Linked DNA regions of Homo sapiens: region 2 is linked to region 1. The links are contacts of gene promoters, found by promoter capture Hi-C in human tissues and cell types (Jung and others, 2019). All regions are on one chromosome and are shown on one strand. The core of a region is centred on a gene start or on the middle of the fragment in contact, and the rest is flanking DNA. Distances in the headings are between cores, read along the strand shown. Region 1 holds the start of FXYD4 (FXYD domain containing ion transport regulator 4). Region 2 has its middle 2.3 kb from the start of LINC02623.

What was found. Contacts are between HindIII fragments. The study calls those that stand out against the background at their distance.
Region 2: a contact is called between a fragment that was not itself captured here and the fragment with the promoter of FXYD4 in region 1, in 2 of the 25 tissues and cell types used here (H1 embryonic stem cells and dorsolateral prefrontal cortex).

Annotation. Positions count from the first base shown.
Region 1 is chr10:43,369,346-43,373,665 of GRCh38, reverse strand. FXYD4 (FXYD domain containing ion transport regulator 4) reads right to left here and starts at 2,030. Exons shown (of 9, transcript NM_173160.3): 1 at 1,969-2,030; 2 at 894-939; 3 at 1-151. The HindIII fragment of the contact is 15,718 bases long and covers 1-4,320 here.
Region 2 is chr10:42,867,021-42,871,490 of GRCh38, reverse strand. No RefSeq gene overlaps it. Among named protein-coding and RNA genes, the nearest start is that of LINC02623, 2.3 kb to the left of the region's middle. RefSeq lists enhancers at 1-124, 125-626, 4,391-4,470. The HindIII fragment of the contact is 5,667 bases long and covers 1-4,212 here.

The DNA of each region.
Region 1 (4,320 bases), core at 781-3,280:
AGCTCAATTGGTCAGCGAGAGGAGGCAGGGGCGGGGGCAGGCAGAGCCCCATGGTGAAAGTAGGTGTACAAACCCCAAGGATACACTTGCTTGTGGGGAGATCTTGGGAAAGTAACTACTTTCTGTCTTCCCATCTAGAGATGGTGGTGGCCTGGGGGAGTTGTGTGGATTGAGTAAGCACAAGCTAAGAGCTCAAAACTGTGCCTGCACAGAGTAAGTGCTGTAGAAGGCGTTGTTAAAATCCATGCGACAAACCCACCCCCTACTCCTCCCCATGAGGAAGATACTATTATTGTCTCTATTTCAGAGAAGAAAAAAAAAAATGGAGCTTAGAGAGGTGTAATCAGATGCCCAGGGTCAGGTGGCTGCTATTCTAAGTCAGGGTCTGGAGCCTGCCTTCCTAACCCCACACAAAGGGCATTGTTATCAGGCCCCAGGCTATTGTTCCCAAAGGTCTGGGCCTGGGGTGGCCAGAGTCCAGCACCCTCAGTCTGAATTCCCAGAGAGCCTCCACAAAAGCAAGGGTGTGGAGGAGGGAGGGAGTGCTGAGTCCTGGGATGAGATGACTGCAGCAGCCAGGACCTCCCCTGCCAGCCCTGGCAGGGGACCCTACTCCAGCAGACCCAGATTCTGCTCTCAGAGTATAGACCTCCTGTGGTATGACATTTCCCCCTCAGGTTGGAAGTAGCCAGGACCCCATTTACTTGTCCTTAGGGAGGCTGAGTCTTTGAGCGCAGGCCCCCTCCCAGCCCTCTGCATATTGTTAGCCTAGTGTGGTCAAGTTTTCAATACTGAAGCCATTGTCATCATCTGCTGTACCCAGCTCTGGCCTCCTGATGAGATCACAGATCCAGGGCCAGCTGTCTGGGCTGGGTCCCTTCTTAGCAACTTACCAACTGTGTGACTCTGCAGGTTCCTCACTGCTCCTTCACCAGTGTCCTGTAAAAGGAGGATCATCAGAATAGTAGCAACCTCATAAGGTTATAGCGATGGAATTACGTGAACTACTATTTGTCAAGCCTAAGAACTATGCCTAGCACACAGTAAGCACTAAAAACCTGTTACAATAAATACATCCATAGGCCGGGCGCAGTGGCTCACACCTATAATCCCAGCACTTTGGGAGGCTGAGGCGGGTGGATCACCTGAGGTCAGGAGTTCAAGATCAGCCTGGCCAACATGGCAAAACCCCATCTATACTAAAAATACAAAAATTAGCTGAGTGTGGTGACAGGCGCCTGTATTCCCAGCTACTTGGGAAGCTGAGGCAGGAGAATCACTTAAACCTGGAAGGTGGAGGTTGCAGTGAGCCGAGATCCTGGCACTGCACTCCAGCCTGGGCAACAGAGGGAGACTCCATCTCAAAATAAATAAATAAATACATCCATAAATAAACACATGGTCCTTCTGCAGTGGGAGGGAGGCACTGGAGGGAGAGACTGTTAGGCACTGCTTCTGAACATCGGTTCTTGGGCTAGGAGCAGTCTCCAAAGCTGGCTTCCCCCAGCCTTCACTGGTCTCTCTACCTTCACCAACCTGGAGTTCCTGGAATACGAGGGTCTCAACTCTAGGTCACATTTTTTATTTTATTATTATTATTATTACTATTTTTTTTTTTTTTGAGACAGGGTCTTGCTCTGTTACCCAGGATGGAGAGCAGTGGCGTGATCTCGGCTCACTGCAGCCTTGAACTCTCTTGGCTCAGGTGATCTCCTCACCTGAGTATCTCAAGCAGTTGGGACCAGAGGTATACCCCACCAGCTCATATATTCTTTAGCCAAGGGCTGGCTTCTGTTTCCTCCAACCCCCAACCCACCATCCATATGATAGTGGGTGCAAAGCAGGAGGCCTTCAAGCGGCTGCTGCAGCCATATCTGTCCTCAGACCCCTCAACAGGCTCCTCATTACTCAGAATTCTTGGGCACCCACCCCCTTCACCCAGCAGCCCCAAAGTGGACGCCTGCTCACCTGCGAGGTCACCTTGGCGAGGGCTCACCTGAGCTGGCAGCGCAGAGAACGGATCTGAGGAGGCTGCTGGGCACGTGGGTCGGCTCTTTAAACCCTGCAGCCACGCCCAGGGCTCCATGACGCAGGCTGGAGGGAACTGGTCAGGCTCCCTGCCACACCCAGGGCTGTTGGGGAGGGGCGGGCTGGGCCGAAGACCCTCTTTTGGCTTCTTTTTTTTTTTTTTTTTTTTTTTTTTTTCTTTTTTTGAGATGGAGTCTCACTCTGTCACCCGGGCTGGAGTGCAGTGATGCAATCTCAGCTCACTGCAACCTCTGCCTCCTGGGTTCAAGCAATTCCCCTGCCTCAGGCTCCCGAGTAGCTGGGACTACAGGTGCACGCCACCACACCTGGCTAATTTTTTTTGTATTTTAGTAGAGATGGGGTTTCAATGTGTTGCCCAGGCTGGTCTCCAACTCCTGAGCTCAGGCAATCCGCCCACCTCGGCCTCCCAAAGTGCTAGGATTACAAGCGTGAGCCACCGCGCCCAGCCTTTCTTTTGGCTTCTTTAGCTCACCCAGATCCTAAAAGAGGGACCTGGAGGGTGCTGGGCAGGGTGTTCCTGGGCTCTTGTGCCAGCTTTGGGGGTTCTGGGACCTCTGTGTGGGGGTGTCCTGGGGACCACGGAGGATACCAGGAGCCAGGCACTGACCTTGAGGCTCCCTGTGCTCAGCAGTGCCATGCCACTGCTGTCACTTGGGCTGGGTGTCTACTGAAGGGAGGCTGGTGGCCGATGGGCACCCCCGGGGGTGGCTCACCCTCTGACAGGGCCCTGACACCCACTTAGCCTCCCCCACAGGTGAGGGATGGGGCCAGGAGGAGGATAGACGCCCCCGGCTGAGGAGTGGGCTGCCTCCCTCTGCAGACCTCAGGCCTGCCTTGTTGCTGGGGGCCAAAGTCACCCCACACAGGCGTGTGGAGGACCCCAGGCCTCCCTAGTCTGCTGTTACCCCTCCTTAATTCTTTTCCAAATGAGGGACACTTGTCCCTGTCCAGAAGGTAAGGGGGGATGGCTGACAAGGGATGGGGGTCTCTGGGCTGGGAGGGCTGGGGAGGGCAATGATGGTTTAGTTGGTTTGTTTGTTTATTTATATATTTATTTTTGAGCTGGAATTTCGCTCTGTCGCCCAAGCTGGAGTGCAGTGGCTCGATCTTGGCACACCACAACCTCCACCTCCCAGGTTCAAGCAATTCTGTCTCAGCCTCCCGAGTAGCTGGGATTACCGGCACACACCACTGTGCCCAGCTAATTTTTGTATTTTTAGTAGAGATGGGATTTCGCTATGTTGAGCAGGCTGGTCTCGAGCTCCTGACCTCAGGCGATCCACTGCCTCGGCCTCCCAAAATGCTGGGATTACAGGTGTGAGACACTATGTCTGGCCCAGACATACTTTTAAGTGGAAAAAAAGTATAGGGCAGTCTGAATAGGATGCTGTCACTTGTGTAAAAATATAAAATATTGGTTGGGAAAGGCGGCTCACGCCTGTAACCCCAGCACTTTGGGAGGCTGAGGTGGGCCTGTGTCTGTGTGCATGCTGCATGGGGCTTAGCACAGAGGAGGCGTCCCGGTGTTTCCTCAGCCAGCTGTTTACTTGAGTTCATTGCATATATGACTGCACCTAGCCCTCACAGAAGTCTTTGGAGGTTCATACTCTCATTAGCCTGTCAATCTACAATAGTCAAACAGGTTAGATTTTAGTTTAAAGGAGTTTATTTAAGTGTAAAGGTTAAGGATGGCCTGCTCAGGAAGTAAGGATGGTAAAGAATGGAAGTCATGGCTGGGGGCGGTGGCTCACGGTTGTGATCCCAGCACTTTGGGAGGCTGAGGAGGGCAGAACATGAGATCAGGAGTTCAAGACCAGCCTGGCCAACAAGGTGAAACCCCGTCTCTACTAAAAATACAAAAATTAGCCGGGCGTGGTGGCGCGCTCCTGTAGTCCCAGCTACTTGGGAAACTGAGGCAGGAGAATCGCTTGAACCTGGGAGGCGGAGGTTGCAGTAAGCTGAGATCGTGCCACCGCACTCCAGCCTCAGCGACAGAGCGAGACTCCATCTTAAAAAAGAAAAAAAGAGAAGAATGGAAGTCAGAGTTTTAAAGTCTCGGTGGAGTGTGGGGGTTAAATCCTGACACTCTGGGAGGCCAAGGTGGGCAGATCACTTGAGCCCAGGAGTTTGAGACCAGTCTGGGCAACATAGCGAGACCCCATCTCTACAAAAAAAAATAGAACAAACAGCCTGGCGTGGTGGCACACACCTATACTCCAGCAGAGGTGGGAGGATCGCTTCAGCATGGGAGGTCAAGGCTGCTGTGAGCCC
Region 2 (4,470 bases), core at 130-2,629, 500 kb after region 1:
CCAGGACATAATCAAATCTCCCTGGAGGACATGGCTTCCGGAAGGGCTGCTACAAGCCAGTGGCAGAACAAGGGCAACCAGGGTCAGACACAGCGGAAGGAGGGAAGTCCCAGAGCCGGGCGTGGGTGGGCATCAGAGGGGTGTGGGCTGCACCATCTGGGTGCAGGGGCCAGCAGGCAGTGCGGATCCACCCAGCCCAGGGCCAGCCTTTCCCAGTGGTCACGTGCAGAAACCTGGCACACGTCATGGGGCAGCGGTCCCATATCATAGGCCCTCCTGGTGTTAGCAGTCAGGAGGGTGCCTAGAAAAGCCCCACGGCCACAGGGACTGCAGGATCTGAGCCTGACCTCCACACCAGGAGCCTGCCCAGCACCGTAGGCAGGGCCCAGGTGCCCTGCTCAGGAATGAGCTCTGGTTCCAGCTCGGCCATCCTAGTTTCACCCTGTCTGTAACTTAGCTGACCAGGAAGATGGCTGTGACAACCACAGAAAATCCCAACACAGAGCTGGCATGAAGGAGCTGTGCCCATGGGAGCTTCGGAGTCCTCAGGCCAGGCCGGCCCTGGCTCTGCCACCTCCTGGCTGGAAGACCTTCAGGCACCTACTGAGCCTCTCAGGGGCTCAGCATCTCGTCTGTGGGACAGGGATAATAATAGGGTTGTTTTGAGAGTAAAAGCACAAAACACAGAGCCTGGCTGAAGAAAGCACAGGTAGCTGAGGTCAGCCAAGGCTGAGTTAAGTGTTCTTCTTAGAAGAGCAGACAGGTCATTCCCTGAAGGCATCAGTGTGGGCAGGAGGGAACCTGTACTTTGCAGTCCCAACACCTCAGGACACAATTCCTGCTAACCTGACCCACAAAAGACCAAAGGACACACCCAAGATCCTGGACCAACATCCCACAACGATGCCTCCTGGTTTCTTCTCTAAGAATACTTCTTAAAAAGTTCCCCAGGAAGCTAACTCTATGTTCCTAATGTATGGACCATGGAAAGAAAACAAGTGTCTCAGTAGGTGTGTTCAACAAATGTGCAAATGCAGGGATGAACGAAGATGCCCAAAGTCAAGAAGCACCTCAGTCGCCTCCAACGTGCTCGGGGGCCACATCCACCTCCAACCTCTGCCCTGTTCACGTTTTCCTCCACCCAGATTCCCCTCTTGCCCTGGCACTCCAGGAATTGTTTGATGTCCTGGAAGCTTCCTTTCTCTGTTCCACAGCCCCTGAGCCTGGCGCCTCCCTGCATGCCTGTCCACCTCACCCACCAAGTTCCAGGAGCAGGCATCTGTCCTGCTCACCCCGACTCAGCAGGGAGGGCTGAACTCTGGAGGCTGAGTGGACCTAGACCTGCCCCGTGGCCTCCTGTGCCTCCGTGTCCTCCTCACCCTCGACTCACCAAGGAGCCCTGAGGACATGAGAACTGGAACATGCCCAAGACCCATGTCGGGGCCTGGCACACATGAAGCGCCCAGTGAATGCTCGATGACTGAGGACAGCATCGCTTCTTCTAAGAGGGGAAAAAAAAGAAAGTCAACCAGAGACAATTTGTAAAAGATGGCTTTTGACTGAGCCCTTGAAGGATGGGCAAGGATGGGCAAGGGGAGGGGGGACTCAAAGTGAAGGATGAGAAGGCTCTAGGTGCATGAGTGCCTGTACATGTGAGCATGCATGTGCATGTGTGTGCATGTGCATGTGTGTGCATGTGTGTGCATGTGTGTGTGTGCATGAGCCTTGCAGCCTTGCATGTGTGTGCATATGCATATGTGTGTGCATATGTGCATATGCATATGTGTGTGCGTATGTGCATATGCATATGTGTGTGCGTATGTGCATATGCATATGTGTGTGCGTATGTGCATATGCATATGTGTGTGCGTATGTGCATATGCATATATGAGCATGCATGTGTGTGTGCCCTAGTCCAGACAGGGCTCTGAATGCACTGTGGGGGACAGATGATTTCAGACTCCACCATGCGTCTGAAATCAGTGGGACAGATGACCTTGAACAAGGCCTTATGGCTCACTTAGTGTGAGCCAGACTCCTTAGAGACAGTGACGGCAGGACACACACGTGGGGGTCCACCTTCCCAGAGCTGGAGCCCACATAGCTCCAGGACCTCAAGGGAAGCCCAGGGGCTGAAGGGCCCAGGAGGTCCATCCATGTGATGGACCCAAGGAGACTTTGGTGGCTTCTCTGTTAAGATTTGAAGGGGGCCAGGTGTGGTGGCTCATGCCTGTAATCCCAGCACTTTGGGAGGCTGTGGCAGGGGGATCATGAGGTCAGGAGTTCAAGACCAGCCTGGCCAACATAGTGAAACCCCGTCTCTACTAAAATACAAAAAAAAAAAAAAAAAATTAGCCGGGTGTGGTGGTGGGTGCCTGTAGTCCCAGCTACTTGTGAGGCTGAGGCAGGAGAATCGCTTGAACCCGGGAGGCGGAGATTGCAGTGAGCTGAGATCACGCCACTGCACTCCAGGCTGGGAGACAGAGCAGGACTCCATCTCAAAAAAAAAAAAAAAAAAAAAGATTTGAAGGGATCCCAGGGGGCAGGGCTGGGTGGGCACAGGATGGAGACAGCGACACCTTTGGTCTTGGGTAGCCCCTGCCAGCCCCAGCATATCCTCAGCAGATAGGGTGACAACAGTGCCACTACCTCTAGTGGGAGGCTCAAGAGAAATTCACGTGACGCACCTGCCTGGGCTTGGTGAGTGAAAAGCTCCCCACTGACTCGAGCGCTGGTGGTGAGGATGGAAAGGGAGGTAGAGATGGAGGCGACAGCGTGGGCAGAGCAAGAGCACAGCCATGGAAGGGAGGTCCTCCCAGCTAGCCTTCAGGAGGCCCATGGCCAGCCTCAGGGCAGGAGGAAAGAATGTGGACCAAAAGCGGAACGTCCAGCCAGGGGAGGCCCCAGCAATGGCTGTATCAGGGCTGAGTGTGATCACAGGAAAAGCCACCCAAGGATTGAAATCGAGTGGAGTCAAGACTACGTGGAAGCCTACCTCTCCATGATGGCAACTTTGGAAGAACGTGTGACCTTGCGGAAGTGCACAGAAGGCACTGCTGGCCTGAATGGGTCCTTGGGCCCTGGTCTCGGGGCCGGCTTTTCTCCCTTCCCCAGACCTGCTGTGGCTCCATCCCCTCTCTCCTGCATCCTGGGATTGCCCCCAATTAACTACCTGCTTACAAGCCTTTTCTTTATTTTCTTTTTGCCTTTTCTTCTTTACATGTAAAGCATGAGTCCATCTGGAGCTTATTTTAAAGCATAGAATGAGGACTGACATTGACCTGTTTTTTTAAATGAAATAACTAGTTGTCCCAACCCTGCTTGTTGGATAATACTGCGGTTTCAGGAGTACCCCCACTGTCATACACCCGTGGGTCCATACCCCTGGGCTCTCCATCTGGGCACTCCCCTACCTGTGGCACCTCCTTCCTGAGGGCCGGCCTCACCCAGGGCCCAGCTGCCCTCTCCGTGGCCTGTGTCTTCCTTTCCTGATGCCTCAGATTCCCCCCATTCTCTGGCACTCTCTCCATCCTCCTGACCTCACTCTGCACCTCCCATGAGGTGCAGGACTGCCCTGCTCCAGCCCCCAGCTTCCTCAATCCCGAAGCCTTGTGCCACTGAAGCAGGAGCCCCAGAGTGCACCTGGATGGCAGCTTCTCTCCTGGCCAACAAACACCTGGTGCTGGCTGCCCTCCCAGCATCTCCCCTCAACAACTCAGCTCCACCCCAGGGCCTTAACACACACATGCACAGCACACACACGTACAAACATATGCACACACAGACATGCACACAAATGTACATACGGACTTACACAGCCACATACAGATGTGCACACACTCGTGCATACACAGATGTGTTCATGCAAACACACACGCGTATGCTCACGGGCGCGTACACATGTGTATGTTATGCTAAGAAATCCATTTTGTGTAGAAGACACTCAGGCTCAAATATGTGTCCAAAGTCACACAGCTATGGAGCGGCAGAACTCAGGTCTCTAGTGCACACAGCCCCGACTTAACCGCAGTTCCACTTAACAGTTTTCAACTTTATAGTGATGCAAAAGCCATCCACAGTCAGCAGAAACCCTCGTTTGAGTCCCACACGGCAACTCGGTTTTTCACTTTCAGTACAGTAGTCAATGATTACATGAGGTATCCGACACTTGACTACAAAACAGGCTTCGTGTTGATGCTTCTGCCCACCGCAGGCTCAGGGCAGTGTTCTCAGCAGGCCAAGGTAGGCCCCCACGCTGTGCTATTCGGTAGTCAGGTGGACTCAGTCATTTTCCACTCTCAGCGGCCTTATCGGGCCGCAGCCAGGGGTAAGTTGAGCAGTGTCTGTACTTTTAGCTCCACCCTGGGTATTTTAAGCGGCAGATTTACAAAACAAAAACAAAAACAAAAACAAAAACAGGGTTCCAAACAGTAGGGACATAAAAGGAGAGAATGCACGTTGCGGTCAGCC